Regions from separate parts of the Homo sapiens genome. Here regions 2, 3, 4, 5, 6 and 7 are each linked to region 1. Evidence: promoter capture Hi-C in 16 types of primary human blood cells and fetal thymus (Javierre and others, 2016). All regions are on one chromosome and are shown on one strand. Each heading gives the region's core, a stretch centred on a gene start or on the middle of the fragment in contact. The rest is flanking DNA. Distances are from core to core; before and after follow the strand shown.

Evidence for each region. The method cuts DNA at HindIII sites, captures the fragments that hold promoters and counts their contacts. A CHiCAGO score of 5 or more calls a contact.
Region 2: a contact is called between a fragment that was not itself captured here and the fragment with the promoter of ABHD10 in region 1, in 1 of 17 cell types (M2 macrophages). The highest score is 6.5, in M2 macrophages.
Region 3: a contact is called between a fragment that was not itself captured here and the fragment with the promoter of ABHD10 in region 1, in 6 of 17 cell types (activated CD4 T cells, naive B cells, total CD8 T cells and 3 more). The highest score is 6.8, in activated CD4 T cells.
Region 4: a contact is called between a fragment that was not itself captured here and the fragment with the promoter of ABHD10 in region 1, in 6 of 17 cell types (activated CD4 T cells, total B cells, naive CD8 T cells and 3 more). The highest score is 7.1, in activated CD4 T cells.
Region 5: a fragment that was not itself captured here is called in contact with the fragment with the promoter of ABHD10 in region 1 in 1 of 17 cell types (naive CD4 T cells); the score reaches 5.0 in naive CD4 T cells.
Region 6: a contact is called between a fragment that was not itself captured here and the fragment with the promoter of ABHD10 in region 1, in 8 of 17 cell types (monocytes, total B cells, naive B cells and 5 more). The highest score is 7.2, in monocytes.
Region 7: a contact is called between a fragment that was not itself captured here and the fragment with the promoter of ABHD10 in region 1, in 17 of 17 cell types (naive B cells, naive CD8 T cells, total B cells and 14 more). The highest score is 13.6, in naive B cells.

Annotation. Positions count from the first base shown.
Region 1 is chr3:111,977,451-111,980,413 of GRCh38, forward strand. It overlaps ABHD10 (abhydrolase domain containing 10, depalmitoylase), which reads left to right and starts at 1,576. Exons shown (of 5, transcript NM_018394.4): 1 at 1,576-1,753. The coding sequence starts at 1,612. RefSeq lists enhancers at 1,218-1,777, 1,636-1,685, 1,696-1,745, 1,766-1,815. The HindIII fragment of the contact is 3,690 bases long and covers 1-2,880 here.
Region 2 is chr3:111,525,647-111,528,609 of GRCh38, forward strand. All of the region lies in intron 2 of LOC105374039 (a long non-coding RNA gene), which reads left to right. Among named protein-coding and RNA genes, the nearest start is that of CD96, 15 kb to the right of the region's middle. The HindIII fragment of the contact is 8,676 bases long and covers 1-2,963 here.
Region 3 is chr3:111,590,724-111,593,686 of GRCh38, forward strand. The region is part of intron 5 of CD96 (CD96 molecule); the gene reads left to right. ZBED2 (zinc finger BED-type containing 2) reads right to left here. Exons shown (of 2, transcript NM_024508.5): 2 at 2,177-2,963. The coding sequence ends at 2,822. Among named protein-coding and RNA genes, the nearest start is that of ZBED2, 3.1 kb to the right of the region's middle. The HindIII fragment of the contact is 1,514 bases long and covers 797-2,310 here.
Region 4 is chr3:111,610,135-111,613,097 of GRCh38, forward strand. The region is part of intron 8 of CD96 (CD96 molecule); the gene reads left to right. Among named protein-coding and RNA genes, the nearest start is that of ZBED2, 16 kb to the left of the region's middle. RefSeq lists an enhancer at 1-903 and a silencer at 296-345. The HindIII fragment of the contact is 7,617 bases long and covers 1-2,963 here.
Region 5 is chr3:111,626,205-111,629,167 of GRCh38, forward strand. All of the region lies in intron 10 of CD96 (CD96 molecule), which reads left to right. Among named protein-coding and RNA genes, the nearest start is that of ZBED2, 32 kb to the left of the region's middle. The HindIII fragment of the contact is 1,468 bases long and covers 716-2,183 here.
Region 6 is chr3:111,648,067-111,651,029 of GRCh38, forward strand. It overlaps CD96 (CD96 molecule), which reads left to right. Exons shown (of 14, transcript NM_005816.5): 14 at 1,632-2,963. The coding sequence ends at 1,740. Among named protein-coding and RNA genes, the nearest start is that of PLCXD2, 25 kb to the right of the region's middle. The HindIII fragment of the contact is 847 bases long and covers 1,071-1,917 here.
Region 7 is chr3:111,685,379-111,688,341 of GRCh38, forward strand. All of the region lies in intron 1 of PLCXD2 (phosphatidylinositol specific phospholipase C X domain containing 2), which reads left to right. Among named protein-coding and RNA genes, the nearest start is that of PLCXD2-AS1, 9.4 kb to the left of the region's middle. The HindIII fragment of the contact is 2,499 bases long and covers 227-2,725 here.

The DNA of each region.
Region 1 (2,963 bases), core at 326-2,825:
GGAGTATGTCCTGAAATCAAGTTGCTGTCCTTAACTATATGTCCTTAGTAGAGAGAGGCATCCCACCTCTCAAGAAAGAGATCTATTCAGTCTTTATTTATCTAACTGTTCCAGACTGTTCCAACAGTCCAGGTTCTCACGACTCCAAAGACATGCTGGATTCACTATATCCAAACTTTGCCTTTAATTCTGGTACCAATTACTGCCCCCCAAATTTATAACCAGGATAATAAAAGTTACTTTACTATCTTATATATACTCAAAGTATTACACAAGCCACCATAACTTTTAAATAGGAAACTACTACGTAAAACTCCATGGTTGATGCTTGAGGCCCCCAGGAATTAGTTTGAAAGGTATTTAGAGCTGGAGTCCGGAAACCCTTGTACTACAATTTATTCAACTATTTTTCTATTGTTAGCCATTCCCATTTTTTTCCTTCTCTTTGCCTCTAAAAACGGTGTAGTAGATAATATGCAGTCTTAAGAACTAGTGTTGTTTTTCTATAGGATAATCACAAATTGGTGCCACTGCGTTAAAAGGCACTGGAATGGATGCATATTTTAAAATTGTAATAGATGTGGCCATATTACTTCACAACAAATTTTAGTAATTCACCTTCCTAGCAATCATACATAAGTGCTAGTGTCTAGCATCCTTGCCAATTATTTTTCTTTTTTGCCAACTGAATGGGGGGAAAAAGGCATTATTTTTTTAATTCCAGTTTTTCATTTAGTGAGTTTGAGCATCATGTTTCCTTATATGGGCTGCCTATTTATAGCTGTTGGCCAATTTTATTTGAATTATATTTCTTATTTATAGGAGCAGGCTGAGTAGAAGTATTAATGTATCTATGCTACAAAATCCATTTTTCTAAGCTCTTAACTTGAGGTGTCTTTTGCCATTCAAAAAGTTTAAATTCGTATACAAATATATTTTTTATTTATGATGTTGGGGTTTTGAAATCTTGGTTAAGAAAGTCCCTTCTGTCCCCGGATTATATAATATTCTCCTAAAATTTATTTAATCCTCTCAGTTGTATTCTTCCGTTGAAATCTTTTTTTACTGAAATTTATTTTCGCATATAGCACGAGGAGGGGGCCAAGATAATTCAGTATTTCGTTAATCAGGCATATAGATCTAGAGCGGGGAATGTCCGATACCATTCCAGGTTATACAGGCGAGATTAATGTCAGATCTTGGGAGCATTTCCAGTACAGGTTAAAACTGTCACGCGGTCGGCGGGATTGCAGGTGATGCAGCAAGCCTGGTGTCCTCGACAGGAGACGTTTCCCATCTAGGACCGTTGGATAGGGTTCCTTTCTGAGCTTCCAGCTCTGTAGTATCTATCAGCCCGCTGATAGGGCAGCCTCCCGACGCCACTCAAAACATCTTAAAGGCCCCAAGCCAAACCCCGCTACTAGTAGAACCAACAGTCTAAACGAAAGAGCCACGACGCTCTGCGCATGTGCGCTCTTCGCAAGCTGAAAATCTTGCGGGGAGCTCTTTAGCAAGTTCCGCCTTCCAGCCTGAAGCGCATGCGCAGCCTCGGTTCCGTTGCGTAGCGTGTCCCTCAGTGGGACACTGCAGGGTGCGGGGACAACTACGAAGATGGCGGTTGCGCGCTTGGCAGCTGTGGCGGCCTGGGTACCTTGTCGGAGCTGGGGCTGGGCAGCCGTCCCCTTCGGTCCCCACCGTGGCCTCAGCGTGCTGCTTGCACGGATACCTCAGCGGGCGCCACGGTGGCTCCCAGGTCAGTGTCCGAAAGGCGGGAGTAGGATGCGTTCTTTCGAACGCCTCGGGTTCCGTCAGTTACCGTGCCTGTGCAGTGCGTCTTTGGCGCCCGGTTCAAAAATGCTCCTCCCCCTTTCTCAACACCCCAGTTCTAGGCGCTTTGTAGACTTCTGGTGAAGGCTGTGAGGAGAGCTCTGCCGCGGCCCTGCGGCATTCTGGGCACCCCGGGCCCTCGCTGGCGTTTTACACTGTGCAGTTTAAAGAGCTCCTGCTCCTTACCTGCCTCCCCTGCATTAAAGGCCAACACTAGAAAAAATTAAAATGTGCATTTAATGCATTATTATTAGTTACTTCTAGGAATTTGTAGATTGTGACTCCTAAAATGCTTAGACTGACTCTCCTTTGAGTTTAGGGAACCTAACAATGCGAGGCATGTTCTTTGTAAAAGTGTAGACGCCCTCATAAGCCTAATTTCTAGTTCTGCTTTCTTGCTGCACCCACTCAGTGAAAGAACCATAATCATTATTGCACAAAGGAAACTAGAATTTGGGCTAAAAATCAGAGAACCTCTTATATGTATATATAGTCTTTGAATTAGATCCTTTTATTTTTTTGGCTTTGTGTGTGGTTCACACCATTGCCACGTAGCTGTCAGATGATGCATGGTGCTTGGAGTGGTAATTAATGTCACGGCAGAGATCTTTTGTATGGAGATTTTTGTATCCAGTTTTTAAACTTTTATAATCAGATTAACTTGCATTTAATTGTGCGCAACCAAAAGGCATGTTACACATGCAAATACTCCTAGTAAAATGTAGTATGTCAATTCATTAACCAGAGTATAATATTATTTCATCTAGTTAGCACTTATTCATTGAGCACTTATGCACCAGGCTTTGAATTAATCCTTATGTTCAAAGATGATTTATGAATATAATTATATGAATCTGTCTACTTAGAACTTACATTAAATAAATTATAATCATCTCGGGGAAATTATGTTTTAAGAGGTGATTTCTGGAAGAGGATAGTGAGAATTTTTTTTAGTGCTCAGCTGAGTAGATGGGAAATGAACATGAGTGGATCAGCATAACTGGTCCTTACCAAAAGTTTTAAATTTGGCATATTTCTCTATACTTTGAAACAAGCTTTTATGTAAAAAGGATAACTTTAAGGCCTTCAGTTACATCTTTAAAAAATCAACTTCTTAATTACAAAATGGGGAAAAC
Region 2 (2,963 bases), core at 200-2,699, 450 kb before region 1:
GGTCTCATTAATTCTGATTCCTCTGATGAGATTAAACTTATGGTGTCTGCCAAAGTTCCTGTTTCCATTTTGGCCGGTGAGTCAATTGCTCAATTACTTTTACTACCTAATATTATTTTAAACAAAGGAGATAAGACATGGGGCCCTGCGATGGGCTCCGGCAGTGAAAAAGCTGCTTATAGGATTAATGTAATTTCTAAACAACAGCCCACCTGCACCATACACATTCAAGGAAAAAAGTTTGACGGCCTAGTAGATACTGGGGCTGATGTTTCTATTATTTCCTCTAATTTATGGCCTTCCTCCTGGCTTAAACATCCCGCTAACATGGGACTAGTAGGTGTTGGAAAAGCTGATGAATTTCACCAGAGCACATTTATCTTGCCTTGCACTGGTGCTGATGGTCAAAAGGGTACAATTCAGCCTTATATCACACCAACCCCCATTAATATTTGGGGTAGAGATTTGCTGGCGCAGTGGGGGGCTGAAATTAATATTCCATGTAACTCTTATAGTGTTCCCAGTCAACATATAATGGAAAACATGGGGTTTGTTCCCAGACTTGGTCTCGGTCCAAGACATGAAGGAATTACTAAACCTCTTCAAGTTACTGTAAAAGAAGACAGGGCTGGTTTAGGTTATCCCTTTTAATGACGGCCACTGCCATGCCTCCTAATCCTGTAACTTTGTAATGGAAATCTGAAACACCTGTTTGGATTCAGCAGTGGCTGCTCTCTAAAGAAAAACTGGAGGCTTTAACTCAATTGGTTTCTGAACAGTTATAAGTTGGAAATGTGGAACCGTCTCTTTTGTCCTGGAATTCTCCTGTGTTTCCAGTAAAAAAAAAAAAAAAAAAAAAAAAAAATTCAGGTGAGCGGAGGATGGTAACTGATTTAAGGGCCATTAATGCTGTAATTAAACCTATGGGACCTGTCCAACCCGGCGTGCCTGCCCCTGCTTTAATACCTAAAAATTGGCCTCTCATAGTGATTGACCTTAAAGACTGTTTCTTTCATATTGTTTTACATAAATCGGATTGTGAAAAATTTGCTTTTACTGTACCATTATCAATAATCAGGAGCCTGCAGCTCATTATGAATAGAAAGTACTTCCTCAGAGACAGGCTGTGGTGGAATGGGCCAATCGCACTTTCAAAACTCCATTGTCCAAACAGTCTGAGCAACAAAAGCATAATGTAACCACTCCCCACTCCCAATTACATTTAGCATTGTTTACTTTAAACTTTCTAAATGTTCCTAAAGACAATACTCTGACTGCAGCTGAACGCCATTATACAGGGAAAAAATTCTCCCTAAATGGAAGCAAGCCAGTATTATGGAAAAACTCCCAGACCAATACCTGGGAACCTGGAACAATTTTAATGTGGGGACGAGGGTATGCTTGTGTTTCACCTGGAGATCATCAATCCCCTGTCTGGGTGCCCACTAGAAGACTTAAACTTCCTGTAAATACTGACAATGAAAACCACAAGGAAAAGACATCTGCGTCAGAGACCGCCATCATACCTGGTGAGATCTGTGCCGACTCTGCAGAAACTGGCATGCCAAATCAAAATGGGTCTGGTTTAATCCTCCCTAATGGCAATGGAGACCCCTCTAACTAATCCCACTTCTCCTAATTCCCTTTCTTTTTCTCCTTATGAACCTAAAAATCTCGCCATTTCTATTAGTCTGAAAATAACAACCCTCTGTTCTTCTCTTCTTCCTTCAGCACTGGACCTTGCTTAAATTGGTTTTATTTAATAATTCTCCTCCTTATACTTTCTGTCTCACCAGTTTCCCCTCAAACTGATTTACCTGCTACACAAAATTATTCTTATTGGGCTTATGTGCCTTTTCCTCCACTTATTCGAACTTTCACCTGGATGGATGCTCCTGAGGAAATCTATACTAACGATCGTGTGTGGATGCCTGGAGCTAGAGATGACCGTTGCCCTGCTCAACCAGGAGAAGAGGGCATTGCATTTAATGTTACTATGGGTTATAAATACCGTCCTCTGTGCCTCGGACATGCACCTGGTTGTATCCATCTAGAAACTCAAGTCTGGTCTGCTTATCTTCCAGAGAGATTAGCTACAAGGGAAGGAGGACATTTGGTCTCCGGCCTCTCCCTTTCTCCTTTAAGACAAATAAAAAGGGGAGTAATAGGAGATACCCCATACTTTCAATATAAACCTGTAGGAAAACCATGTCCTAAAAATTTTGAGGGCCCATCTAAAACTTTAATTTGGGAAGACTGTGTTAACTCACATGCAGCAGTATTAAAAAAAACCCATATGGTTTAGTAATAGGCTGGGCACCAAAGGGCTATTTAAAAAACAATTACTCCTCTGGCAGAAGGGAATGCCTGGAGGGTACTTATTTTATTTCTTATTGGGAGGGCGAGGATCATCATCCTACTTTGCGTAGGAGGTTCAGCTCATTCTTTCCCTTAAAATGGGAATATAAGGGCATTACCCCCCACCTGAGGCCTCATATGATATTCCCCATTCTGAGCCCAGAACACCCAGAACATAGGAAATTGGCTATTGTCATGTCCAGACTCTGAGTATGGGAGGGGGAAACTTTTCTGTCTGTTGTCCCCACTACCGCCCCTTGCATCCGTGATTCTGAACCCCATGGTAAATCCCCTTTGAACCCTTTTCCTCTTTTTGATGCTGATCCTACTTTATGGGACTCCAATTGGCATAATAATAATTCTTCTCAACCCGGGTATACCCCTCCACCTCTTCAGCATCCCTGGGCACCTCAGATTGCTTCTTTACAGCGGAGAACATCGGGCATTGCCACCACCACTCCTCTCCCTCAGTATCGACATAGATTCAAACATTCTGCTTTGTTTACCTCCAACCTGACTATTCCTATACAGAGTTGTGTTAAGCCTCCTTACATGCTGTTAATGGGAAATATCAAAATTTGGACAAACAGTCAAACTGTCCAATG
Region 3 (2,963 bases), core at 304-2,803, 390 kb before region 1:
GTGGCAGGTTTTTGTATTAGAGCAAAAGATATCAAGCCAAAGAGCCCCTCAACTCACAGCTAATGATGTAGCATAAGAAGGCACAAGAGGGATGCATAAAAGCTCCAGAGTGTACTCAGCAGTTCAGACTTTCCACAAGCCTCATACGTCTCTCACTCTTATGCTTGTGCTTTATACTTTAGCCCCGTCATCTCCATGGGTCTTGTTCATATCACTCGCTACCTTTGTTATGTTTGAAATAAATTAGGAAAAAAAATCTAAAGAAAATTATCTGTCATGAAACATAGGAAACAAAAGCAGTTTGGGGTTAAGTTGCCTACAAAGGAAGAGAGGCTACAATATTAATAACCATGTAAAACAGATACCAGAGGCCAGAAGCAGTGGCTCACGCCTGTAATCCCAACACTTTGGGAGGCCGAGGTGCGCGGATCATGAGGTCAAGAGATCCAGACCATCCTGGCCAACGTGGTGAAACCTTGTCTGTGCTAAAAATACAAAAATTAGCTGGGCGTGGTGGCACGCACCTGTAGTCCCAGCTACTCAGGAGGCTTAGGCAGAAGAATTGCTTGAACCCAGGAGGCGGAGGTTGCAGTGAGCCAAGATCGCGCCACTGCACTCCTGCCTGGCAAGAGAGTGAGACTCCATCTTAAAAAAAAAAAAAAAAAAAAAAAAGACACCAGAACCTAAATACCACACTGGTTGGCATCAGCAGAGCTCCAGCATCTTTGTGCAGAATTTGATTATTTGTGTTTATTTGGTTTGGGTTTTGCAAAGCTTGAACCCTGTGGTTTCCTCAAGCTTCCTAAGCCCCACTCCAAAAATATGTGTTTTGGTTTTCATTTTTTAAATAATTAGGTATTACAGCCTCCTTTTTTTTCCTAGCATCTTTTGCAACATAATAAGGTTCTGAGTCCAAATGTCCAGCCGTCGTCACTTGCACTGGTGAGCACCTGAGCTTGCACCACAGGTAGAGAAGGTTCTAAAAGGGCATCATACCTCTGTGGGGAGACCACATGACAAATGAAATCTTTAATATCAGGCAGATCTCTAGATAAAAAAAGAACATGACGGGACTTCAGTGTGGCCTGGTTATTTCACAAGCCTGGTGCCTGGACTTTTGTTTGTTCTACAAACAGCTGTTAGGGAAGACAGGTCTAGAAGTGAGGGCTGCCTAGCAAGTCTAGGAAGAATATGAGTGAACTACATAGGTCAGGGCCAAAGGAGGCAAGACACCACTGTTACACAAGGACATCCTCTGCTTCCAGAGAGGTTGGTGCCCACAAAGTACTTGGGCTATCTCTGAGATAATGGGATGCTGTCTTTATCTATTCCTGTCTTCCCAAGCTCTTTCCCCACTCCATCCCCATTCCCAACCCACATTATGTTTTGTTTTTTAATGTGTGTGTTTGGTTGGAGGAGGGTGGTGTGGTTATAGAGGAATCTGTCTTCTATAACAAATATCAGGTCCAGTGCAGAGGCCAGAGTACTTTCCAGTTTGATTTTATTCTATTTCTAAATTAATATTTTAGGCATACTTTCAGCAGCCCAGGAAATTACTCTCTCCCTATAGACTGTTAGGATCTCTTTTTTCAAAGCATCTCTGAACATTTAAAGGTAAACAGTTTTTAAAAATCAGTGAACAGTGGATTGGCATGCAGTTAGCATTTCAGAGGTATGAGTAAAATCTAAAACCTACTGTTCAAATAAATAACTGGTCTGTAGGCACAAAGCAAAATCAAGTTAACTCATTAAAATTAACTTCAGGATCTAAGAAAATGTACTCCATCCTTCCCTCATTCAGACAGTCATGTTCTCTTCCATTTTCATGATAAATTTTCCCTAGAGCACTGTCTCTCTTCCCCATCTTTGCATTTCTTCTCTATCCCATTTATTTCTAACTTTCCTTCCTCTGTTCTTTATTTCTCCTTACTTCCTTTATATCTCTGCCTTCTTTTCATTCTGAATTTCTTTCAGTTCTTCCTCACTAACTCCTTTTCCTTTGACAAACCTTAATATGAAATCAGATTATATTTTAACTATTTATGAATAAGTTTTATATAATCTATACTGAATGTTTAAACTAAGTAAGTTGAGAGGTTTTTCATTTCTCTGTGCTAATTACACATTAATTAGTTTAAGCATTAGGTTGTTAAAAAGACACACCGGACTCAGATTATACTGATGAAACAACTTTAATATAAGCAAGAAAATACATTGCAGCAATAACAGGAGAAAGAGACGCATTGGAAAGGTCCAAAGATCTGAGGCTCACAGTTCTTTGTCCTTCCACTTGCTGGGTCACACAGAACAAGCTTTTATTCATACTGGTGGTCTGGAAACTCCACCAGTACATGTGCTAAGACCTCAGTCCTAGGAAGATTAAGCTCTGCTTCCGGCAGGGTGTCTGCAAGTGAGCTGGTCACATAGGCACATTCCAGCTACCTAACCAGCCTCAGCCCTCAAAATCGTCAGCTCCACCAAAACCGAGTGCTAGGCAAAAATCTGATTATTTTGTTAAACAACGCTGACTGGCTGGTACATTCTGCCCTGAAACAACTCACAGAGTTTTACTTTGGTAGAAGCATTTATCTTTAATAGGTACATTTTAGAGTTTCGGCCAAGGGTCAGCAGAGCTCTAGGAACCTCGTAGATAAGCATTTGGTCAATTCAGACCTGCTCAGATTAACTCATACTGTGCACTATTTCACATAAAAGCAAAATGTCACCAAACTACTTTGCTTTACATTTGAGTTGAAACTAAAATGGCTCTTTTCTACAAGTCTAGAGTCAATGTTTTCAGAATAGATTCTCCAAGCCCAATTTAAACAAAATGGAAGGGATGTACTGCTGCAGGCAGCTCTTTCTCCCGCTGGCATGCCTCCTTCTCAGCCCTCACCTTCCACTTCATCTCCAGGATGGCCCTTTCCACCTCCTCCAGGGCTCGCTCCCTTTTTTCCACAGCC
Region 4 (2,963 bases), core at 180-2,679, 370 kb before region 1:
TAGTTTATGTTTGGAATAATTTTCTGTTTGATTTTGTATGTCAATAAAACTCATGTTAAACCAGTGGCAGATTATGTCTAAATAAACTTATCTTTTTGGAATAATCACTGAATTACTATTGAAAAATCCAAATTTTGCCTTGGCAAACTGGAGGGTAATTGTGAAATCACACGATGACTTCCTGCCTCAGAAGCTGGTAGGATTCACCTTTGCATGTTCTTTGAAGAAAGGAAGTGAGATGAAGTATGTCACGGAAACCAACTTCAAAGGCTGTGGTTTCATTCCGAATTCTAAGATGTAATGAGCTTTATAATCCAGTCATCATTACGAAGCTGCATGTCTGGCTGCAAGCATCCAATTCTTATTTTTTCCTCGATGAAAGGATATTTTTTAAACAAATGTTGAAGGTCATGAAAGCAATATTCTTTAATGAGGGGAGGAGAACTTAATAACTCATAACAAACTGTAAGAGTTATCCAGGGAAGCCCAGCTCAATTCAACCTGAACCAATTCGTGTTTGCTGAGTCCCAGCTGCATTCTCAGCGCAGTTCAAGGAAGACAGGCTGACAAGCTAAGTGGCAAGATGAGACAAGTCCATGTGGAACAATCAGAGACAACTGATGAATCCAGGGTGGGGCTGTACAGACACAATTCAGGAGTTTCCGTCGCCTTGAGGAGAGAGCCCTGTGCCTTTCAATTCACTGGCTATGATTTGGCTAAGAGTTACGTAGCCTAAGAGATGCCAACCCGGTGTGGCAATCATCCAAGACACTTATTCATGAAACTCATAAGTATGGAGCGCCTACAATGTGTCAGGGACTTTTGAGGTACAGGATACAGTGATGAACAAGACAGACAGGGCTCCTGTTGCTTACAGAGCTTACGATCCTGTGTGACCCACTTGCCTTGCCTCCTGTTTTACTGCCCATCAGTCCCTTTGGCTCTGCCTCCTATTGTTATGTCTGCACATGACCCTTAGACCTGATGATGTTGATTTTAATATTAAGCCCTTTCTAAGGACTTAGCTGGTCCTCACTATCTGGGTCTTTCTATTCCTGGATACTTAGAGTAAAACACTAGGTCCAGTCTGCCTCTAACCCTCAGCCAGCACCCCAGGTAGACATAACTGATCTTCGGCAAGTGGATGATCAGACATTGAGGGGCACAGGGTAAAGGAAGCAACTGACCAGGGGATGCAACAAAACTACTGATTTATGAGTAAGCATGTCAGAAATGGTGGGGGATCAACCCAGAAGACATGTCATTAGATGAGATTAGAAGAAAGTAAATCAGAAATTCGGCAGTTGATAGGGGCATTGGATTCTAGTGTTAACAGGGGAACGCCAGAGAGAGTCTGCAAGACAGTGAGAAGGCTCCAGTGATTTGTTTGTGATAGCAACTTCTGACCCCTTTGCTAGTCATGCCATGCCTGTATTCAGGTGCCTCAATTGCTGTCCAATAGTTTCTGCCTTTATCAACATGTATCTGCTGCTGAAAAGTAAGAAAAGTCAGTGAGTGCTGGGGGAAAGGAAGGGGGATCAGGGAAGTCTTCATGCAGGGTCTGGAAGAAAATACTGACTCAGGTGGAAGAAAGATGAGAAATGGATCTTCACATTCGCATCATAAGCAAAGGCGTAAAACAAAATGAGTGCAGGACATGAGAAGACAAGCAGGAGTTCTGACATTGCTTGTTGGGAGAGGGCTAAGGGTTGATTAGGTGGGGTGGAACAAGGTAAAGATGAGCTTCAACTCATTTAGCCCCAATTCATAGCCCACAGCCCAGCATGTCTCCTTTATGCTGGACTGAAGGTCAGTGCCCATGTTATCCTGACCACGCAGATTGATGAGGCCGATTCAAATGTGTTTAGATGTAGTTGAAGGCCTGTATTGTCCAGTTAATGTCACTACTGTGTTTAAACGTCAACTAATGGGCTATGAATCGGGGCTGTGATCTGAACAACAAATAGCCACTATGGCTTTTTTTGTATGTGGGAAAATGTCAGGAAAACAGCAGTTATGTATATGGTAGGTGATAGTTGCAAGAGCAGGGAGAAAAAAGACTAAATGATATAGATTTAAAGTGGTTTAAGTTTGTTTTCCATGATCACGAAGGTGGTTAAAAAAATGATATGATCTGAACTAGAATGGGCATTTGTAGAAATGGAGAGTGCTGCAACAGAGGCTCACCAGGATTGTCTGCCTAAATACAGGGACTAAAAAGGTTTTCAGAGAACAATCATACAAGGACCTTTCCATTTTTTCCCTAGCAATTACATAAAAATGTTTACCAACTGCCATGATTGTATAATAATACTAAGCAATAATATTAATATTTGTTGGTTGCCTCCAATGTGTATGGACTGTTCTAAACTAGTAAATGTATTTTCTCATTGAATCCTCCCAACAACACAATTACTTAGGTACTATTATTATCCCACTTTACAGATGAAGATACTGAGGCACAAAGAGGTTAAATAACTCACCCAAAGTCATGCAGAAAGTAGATGAGCCAGTATTGAGCCCAGACAGACTTCAGACCTTGAGTCCTGCTGCCTCAAAGAGTACATGGTTGGTGCTGAATAAATGTCTTTAGACACTGAATAAATCCCTTCTAGTGTGAAGCTGTTATAGGTCTTAGGAAAAGGTCAAACATGACACCTATGCTTATATTAATCTCTCCCTTTTTCAGACCAGTGTTTTCCTGAGACATGCAGCATCTGAGAGTGAAGATAACATTTCCTCAGTTGGAAATAAATTAGAGAAACCCCTCCTGCATCTGTAGCCCACCCCCGCCATCAACACTATTATCATATAATTCTCACTGTAGATATGAATCTACAGAATCCATACAAAACTCCAATGCTTTTCCTTGAATCCTGGGAAATTCTGTTTATTGTATCTTTTTCATCACCTTCCACCTGGGGCACACAACATTCTGCAGACTGTTAAAAGGATTTTTCTTT
Region 5 (2,963 bases), core at 200-2,699, 350 kb before region 1:
GCAGGAGAATGGTGTGAACCCGGGAGGCGGAGCTCGCAGTGAGCCAAGATCGAGATTGCGCCACTGCACTCCAGCCTGGGTGACAGAGTAAGACTCCGTCTCAAAAAAAAAAAAAAAAAAAAAAGAAATGCTCAGTGTCTCTGGTAATCAGGAAATATAAATGAAGACTAGAATTAGAAAATCATTTTATATGTAATCAGTTTACAAAAATTAAGAAATCTGATATTGCCAACTATTGAATAGGATTTATCCAGCATCCTTTCAACATAATTTCTTATATGTTACTGGTGGTACCATCACTTTCCACCATCCTTTGGCATTGTATTTCAAAGCTGAATATGTGCATACCTACAATCCAACAATTCTATTCCTAGATATAAAAATCCCTCCAAAATTAGTACATCTATGCATGAGATATGCACACAAATGTTTGGAGGAAACACTGTTCATATAGCAAAAACTTTAAGTAATCTAAATGGCCATAGTCAGGAGGACAGATAAATAAATTGTAGTATACTAATAAAATATAATATTAAAGAGCAATGAAAAACAAGTGAATGGCAACCATATACAACAGCATGAATGAATCTTAATAACATTATGTTGAATTAAAAAGTAAATACCAAATAACAACATATGGCATATTTTCTAATGAAATTTTAAAGCAAGTATAAACACCATATGCCTTAGACGTAATATGTGATATAAAATTTTAAGCTTTATAAGTGAATAATAATTATAAACATTCAGGACAGCATTTGCTTTTGATGGAGATATAAGGGATGAGACAGGGAGAAAACATGTATAAATCTGTGTACATGAGTAGGAGTGAGAGGGTATTAAGAGGGTGAAAAATATGTTCAGTAATAAGAAATGGCAAATAGGATGAGATAACTCAATGAAATACTATGAAGCCAGCCAAAACAATAGCCATAACCCTGATCCGTTCTTCTTCACTGGGCAGGACCTCACAGCTGGGGCCTCCAGCCACCCCACCAGCTGTATTCTATGGACAGAACTCTGATGTCTCCTTGGGACAGAGTGCCTTGTGGGAGGGGTGGGCCATCACCTTGGTTGTTTGGATGACTCAGCCCTTCCAGCCTGTAGGCACTGGAAAGTCCAAACGGAACAGAGCAGAGGCAGTTCCACAACACAGTTCCCCAGCACAGCTGTTTTGTTAAGGAATGACCAGACTGCTTCTTTAAACAGACCCAGATCCATTCCTCCTCACTGGGAGGGTCCTCCCAGCCAGGGCCTCTGGCCAGCCCCACCCATGTTCTATGGCCAACAGAGTTCTAATTTCTTCCTGGGACAGAGTGCCCAGTGGGTGAGGCAGACATTTGCTGTTTGGGCATCTCATCCAGTTCAGGCTGTGGGCCTTGAAGAGCCCAAATCAATTGGGTGCTGAAGAGATCTCCAACATAGCACAGCTGCTCTACCAAAATGCAGCCAGACTGCATCTTTAAGCAGGTCCCTGATTCCATTCCTCTTGACTGGGTGAGATCTTCCAACTGGAATCTCCAACCACCTCCTACAGGCACGGTCAGGCCAGCAACAGGTCAGTACCCCCCTGGGACAGAGCTTTCAGAGGAATAGGCAGGTGGCCATATTTGCTGTTTCACAACCTTCACTGATGATACCTCCAGGTACTGGAAAAACCAATGTGACTAGGGTCTGGGGTAGACCCGTAGCAAACCACAGTAGCCCTACAGAAGAGTGCCCAGACTAGTCGTTCAAAGAAAACAAATAAAACACAACAGCAACAACAAAACAAAAAAACCATCCAAAGGTCAGCAAACTCAAAGATCAAAGGCAGATAAGCCCACAAAGATGAGAAAGAATTAGCACAAAAACACTGAAAACTTTAAAAAAAGAAAAAGAAAAAGAAAAAAAACAACAACCAGAATGCTCCCTTTCCTCCAAATAATCTCAACACCTGCCCAGCAATGGTTCAGATCTGGGCTAAGGCTGAGATCACTGAAATGACAGAAGTAGCCTTCAGAATATGGATAAAAATGAAGTTCACTGAGCTAAAGGAGCACATTGTAACCCAATGCAAAGAAGCTAAGAATCATGATAAAACAATGCAGGAGTTGACAGCCTAAATAGCCAGTACAGAGAGGAACATAACCAATCTGATAGAGCTGAAAAACACACTACAAAAACTTCACAATGCAATCACAAGCTTTAATAGCAGAATAGACCAAGTGGAGGCAAGAATCTCAGAGCTTGAAGATTGTCTTTCTGAAATAAGACAGGCCAACAAAAACAGAAAACAGAGTGAAAAAAATGAACAAAACATTTGAGAAACAGGGGATTATGCAATGAGACTGAATCTATGACTGATTGGGGTACCTGAAAGAGACAAGAATGGAACCAACTTGGAAAACATACCATCCAGGAGAACTTCACCAACCTAGCAATACAAGCCAACATTAATTTCAGGAAATACAGAGAACCCCAGTAAGATACTCCATGAGAAGATCATTCCCAAGACACATAATCGTCAGATTCTCCAAGGTCAAAATGAAAGAAAAAAATGGTAAGGGCAGGCAGAGAAAAAGGCCAGGTCACCTACAAAGGGGAAGCCCATCAGACTAACAGTGGACCTCTCAGCAGAAATCCCACAATCCAGAAGAGATTGGGAGCCTACATTCAACATACATAAAAAAGAATTTTCAACCCAGAATTTCATATCTGGCCAAACTAAGCTTCATACATAAGGAAGAAATAATATCCTTTTCAGACAAGCAAATGCTGAGAGAATGCATTACCACCAGATCTGCTTTAGAAGAGGTCCTGAAGGAAGCACTAAAAATGGAAAGGAAAGACCATTACCTGCCACTACAAAAAAACGCTGAAGTATACAGGCCATTGACATTATGAAGCAACCATATAAACAAGTCTGAAAAATAACCAGCTAGCATCATGATTACAGGATCAAATCCACACACAGCAATATT
Region 6 (2,963 bases), core at 244-2,743, 330 kb before region 1:
GGTAATTTTAAGAGATTTCCAGCTGCTTTTTTTACCAGAGTGGGCTTTTACTGCCCTTTTCTTTTTTTCCCAAGCAGAAAAGAAAGTAAGCATTGGGTTACCCCATTTTTGTCTTATTGAAATATTTTCCAAAAGCCTTCTCCAATCGGCAGTCTGAAATGGTACATAAGGTTAAGCCTCATTTTTCTGACTTGCTATTTTGAGTCAGTCTGGGTTGGGCCATAACTGGAAGGGACCCCAGTACCCAGAACTGATCTTCCACTTGTCTTACTACTACTCTAAGATAACATTAACCATTGTGCCATATACTTTCCTACCTTTTGCAGAGTATCCTTGAAGACTCTGTAACCACATACAGGGAGTGGTGAACAAAACACTAAACCAGTAGTTAGAAATTCTGGATTATTTTCCAAGGACTACAATTTGGCCACCACATGACCTTGAGAAACTCATAATTCCCCAAAAAACAAAAGTAAAACAAAAGTGCATGTTTCGTAGAATTACCTATTAATACATATGAAGTCTCCATTAAAGCATCTAAAAATTGGGTAATAGGGATTAGAGAGCTTTATATTAAATGAACAAATGAAATCTGAAAATCTGAACTGATTTTTTAAATTGTTCTGTATTCAAATGTTTGTTTTATATGGAGATGAGAATCAATCTCTCTATCCTCCTTCCCCCACTACCCACTCTTTATCTCTCCTAAGATGCTATGGATTGCCAGGGCATAGAGGTGTTTGAGTGATGAACATAAAGATGTTCACAGATATATTTCTGTTGCCTGATATCAAGATAGCTAGAGCATTTGTATAGCTAAATTCCATACTAACTTGGCTCTTTAATGCATTTCGGAAAAAGAGATTACTTGTACTAACATAAAATAGTTCTTTGTACAAAGATGACTTTAAGAATGTTCACTGATTCAAACAAAAGGGATTTAGGCATTATCTAGCCAGTACTCGGGGATTGAGAAGAGCTTTACTTCCCATCTCTACCCTATCCCCGCAGTACATAGTGAGTGTTTGGGCAAAGGCTGGGGCTAGGGTTAGCAAAGAGGCTGTATGAAAAGCTTCAGTCTTAAATCCTAGGATTTTAAGATTTAGTCTCTGGAGGAATATTTTAATCCACATAAAAGAAACATTTCTTCTATTAGGAGGCAGTTGTCATGGAGAGTATCAGTTCTGGTGAAAAGACTTGAATTGTTGGTCTGGTTCTCTTGAGCAAGTTGTTTAAAACCTCTGAGCCTCAGTTTTATCTGTAGAATGGTGATGCATTTCCTGCACACAAAGTAAATAATGTTATGATACATTTCCTGCACACAAAGTAAATAATGTTATGATAAAAATGCTCAGTTTTATCTGTAGATGGTGAGGCAATTTCTACATACAAAGTAAATAATGTTATGATAAAAATTCTTTGCAAACTACAAAATACCGTATAGATCATGAGGTTCAAATGTGACTAACAGGCACAGGGTTATGCCAGCAAAAATGCTGAAAGAACTGGGAGAGTATGTCTCTTTCTCATCAATCTGTGTTCTCCTTTAAAGAAACAACACATGTCTGTGTGTGTGTGTGCATAAGACTCCCTCAATTCTTAGCATTGAAAGACCAATATTTTGTTCCTAGAATGGAAAGACCTCCACCTTTCAAGCCACCACCACCTCCCATCAAGTACACTTGCATTCAAGAGCCCAACGAAAGTGATCTGCCTTATCATGAGATGGAGACCCTCTAGTCTCGTGAGACTTTGCCCCATGGCAGAACTCTGCTGGAATCCTATTGAGAAGGTAGACATTGTGCTTTATTAATATAGTCGCTCTTCAGCCATGCCTTTGCTGCAGCTGAAATGGAAGTCAGAAGTGAGTGACCTGTTTTCCCAGCAACTCACCCTCTTCCATCTCCAAACGCCTGAAGCTTAACCAAGAGTGAGAGGATATGTCATGTTCACACTCAATGCAATTCGTAGTGGTTTTCTTGCTTATGTAAGAAGTACATATTAGTCTGCCATCTTTAAAAAAAAATACAGTATTTTCATTTAAATTCTCTGATGGAGGGACAACAATGGTTTCAACTGTATGCCCATGCCTGATCCTCTTATTTGAACATCTATCAACATTGTAAACTCTTTGCCAAAATCCTGGGGCTTTGCTGCATTCCCTAAGATAATTACAGGAAAAAGAAAATGTAAAAGTGCTAACAAGGCTGCCAAGTAATGGAGAAGTATGGTTAGTCTTCATATTGAAATTCTGTTGCTTATTTTCATGGAAGGAAACAGAATACTTTGCACAGGAACCACATTTTCAATCCTCCTTCACTGTCTTCCTACCATGTTCAGCCCAGACTCCTGCCACATGGACCAGGATGAAGAGGGATCAAAGAGATAATTAGCCAAAAACCCAGTAGCCTAGAAGATACAAAACTCCACTGGCCTCTAAAATTATATTAGCCAAGAGTGGTTTCATTTGAGTGCCTTCGTGTGTATGTCCATCAAACTGGAACCAAACTGTTTTGTAAGTAAACAGGCAGCCTAAGCCCAACCCTACTTTCTAATTCCAGTTATTCTCTTTTTCATCTGGGGATTTACCTGTTCATTTAATCTGCCTGTTTTGATCTGTTTTGAAAAAGATAAAGAGCCTCAAATCAGACCAGCACTGATTAATTAACCCTGCTCCTACCAATCTTTTTTAAAGCAGTTGAAGCAGAATGTATAGGTGTCAGAGAAGAAACCTAGTCAGCCAGACGTGCTCTGTATTCAGCAATAGTTTGTGAATGAATAAATTACTAATCCTCCTTGTCGCTTGAAACCTTCCCACACTCCCTGCTCCAGGAGGGAAAAACAGATGTTGTTGACAGATAGAGTGATAGGCAAATTCTGTGTGGACTTTAGTCCCAAAAGGAAACTTTAGTTCACTTGCAGTATGCTTATCCTTGACTGCACATGAGAATGCCTTGTGCAGA
Region 7 (2,963 bases), core at 226-2,725, 290 kb before region 1:
CTTGGGCATGAGTGTAGGAGTTAGCTTGTGTATACTATACCATAAACCAGCTGTGAAATGGAAACTTTTAGTTGCTTTACCACAATCATCAAACACAATTTATTTCATACATGGACATCTCAGGTTGCACCAATAAGCTCAAAAAAAGCAGGAGAATTTTGCAGTAGAATAGTTCATTTAATGTAACTTTTTCTCCTACCCTAAACATTTTTCTGGTTTCTCCTAAAGCTTATTATTGTTCTTTCTTGTGTGTTTACAAAAAGGTTGTTAAAGCAAATATGGTTATCTCAGAGCTGAGAAGGCTTATTAGGGAATGACCAAGTGCCCCTTGCAAGGGGTTACTTCACAAAAAGATGACGCCATCTATTTGGAGACAGAGCAGGATGCATGGTAGCAGAATAGAAGAATTTCTTGTGAATGAATTATCTACAATGTCTTATTTGGAGTAGGGATTGGGGTCTATTGGACAATTGAAGAAGAGAAAATCTTTCAAAAGAGAATAGGTACCCCTCCCCATGTAGAGGGCTTTAAAATGCTCCCCCCCACAACATGGGATTGAAAACCCTTTGGCTCACATAAATCATAGGACGTTGGAGCTAACTTGGGGAATACCTTGGGCAATGGAATGCTCATTGTGCCTTGCAGAGCAGGGAAGGTTTAGTACCCTTTGGTGCCCCTCTGGCAATCTCAGGTTAAGGGGTGGAGACTGTTGGGGAGAAACTTCAACTAGAGAAGGTCTGGTTGCATTTGTTTCACACATAGATACTTCATTTGAAAGTATTGCAGGTCTAAAAAGTACCCTGTAAACCTCTGATTTACTTCAATTATCTCTGAGCTCATCCAGCCAGTTGCAGGGGTAGACCAAGACAGACTTTTTTAATTCCCAGGCTGTCTCTCCTCAGACAGTGAGATGCACCTTGGCTTCTCAGCACATAAAAAAGAATAAGTTGATCAACATCCTCTGCTTCCAAGTATTCTGCCTTAAACAGTTGCTTTATTGCATTGTGGATAATTATGAATTTAATAGGCGACTGATTAAAAATTAAATTGGCCACATGGCTCTCTCAGATTTTGCAGGCAGTTTGATGGTTATTATGAATACTCTCCCACATGCCTCATGGAAAATAAACAAGTATGATATGTTGAGAAGAAGGTTTAAAGATGTTATCTTTGGTTCAAGGGACTACTAAGTGGCCCCCCTCATTTGGAATCTTGGACTCATAATGACTAATTTTGTATACCCTAAAGATGCCTCAGCCTTTCTCTACTTGTTAATATGGAGTCAAGCTCTCTACAAATGTCACATTTTTCTCAAGGACCTAATTCAGAAGTGTGAGATTGGTGGCTCCAAAGAGATATTATTAGAATATAATTTATGCAGGCATAAGTTTCAGGAAATCTCTCTGGTACCTTTCTTTTAAAATTGTTCAATGTAATATTTTATTATAGTTGTTCCTTTAGTCATCCTTTCTGGTTAATTTTGTCCTCTATGTTTTCTGACACATTCCTCTTCATTGACCCAGATAACTCAAGCTAGAAGGAAAAAGGGAGATAAATGGAGCTAGGAAACAGGTGCAAGGGGTGAAAAGGAGCAGAGAGTGAACCCTACCTGTTTAATGTTGGATGGACCTAATAGAAGTTTGGGAAAGGATCAGGAGAGCTAGGCCCACCAGCCTTAGGCAACTCTCTGAGCATCTGTTCATTCAAGTATCCATGCTTGTATTTATTCTGTATAGATGCATTTAGTACCTACTAAATTCCAGAAACTAAGTTTGGAGATATAAGCGTGAAGTTGACATGTTCCTGCCCTGAAAGACTTTCACTTAGGTGGCAGAGACAGATGTGGAGATAAATAGCACTCAATGTCCTAAGTTCATCAAATATCAACTCACTGCCATGGAATCACAGAGGAAAGAACAGGTCAGTCTCCTTGGTAGAGTCAGGTGAGCTCACAGACTAATGATGGTAATTAAAATGGAAAGGCAAGGGACAATAAGATTGTCCCCAAGGACTCTAAGGGTTTTTTGTTTTCTTAGACAAGTCTTTTGCTATATTCAATGACCATAAGGCGTACTTATATGTATTAATAACTTTGTAAATTAATATATTCTTAACTCAGGCCTCAAATATTTTAACATGCACAATTATTATCTGTTCATATTAAATTTATTGTAATATTTGTATGGATTAAATACCTGAATTGGAATACAAGATGTTTTTCTATGAAAGCCACCCTAAATATCTTCAGCATTTAAGAACACATGTTCATCCCTCTGTTCTTTATGGGTTTTTTCTTTCTTTCTTTCTTTTTTTTTTTTTTGTTTTTGAGACAGGGTCTTGCTCTGTCACCCAAGCTGGAGTACAGTGACGTGACCATGGCTCACTGAAGCCTCAACCTCCTGGCTCAAGCAGTTCTCCATCTCAGCCTCCTGAGTAGATGAGACTACAGGCACATGCCATCACACCTGGCTAATTTTTTTTTATTTCTAGTAGAGACCAGGTCAGGCTGGTCTCAAACTCCTGAGCTCAAGCGATCCTCTCGCAATGACCTCCCAAAGTGCTGGGATTACAGGCATGAGCCACTGTGCCCAGCCTTTTCTTATATCTTTTATCCTCTCTCTCTCTTTGTTATTCACACAGGAGGCACTATGAAAAAGTAGTTCAGAGTGTAGGTTGTAGGCTCAAATCCTCGCTACTATTAATAGTTGCATGACCTTGAGTAAAAAGCTTTACCCCTCTGTCTGTTAGTTTTTTCATCTGTAAAATTGAGATAATTATAATATCCACTTCAAAAGTGCAAAGTTAGAGGAAGCACAAGCTGGAAGACTACCCTCACTCTGATACCAGTTACAGGTTTGGGAGCCTTAAGATCACCCTTGTTTGATAATTTGCTAGGAAGATTGACAGAACTCATTGAAAGTTGTTATACTCATAGTTACTGTTTATTGCTCTGAAAGGCTGCA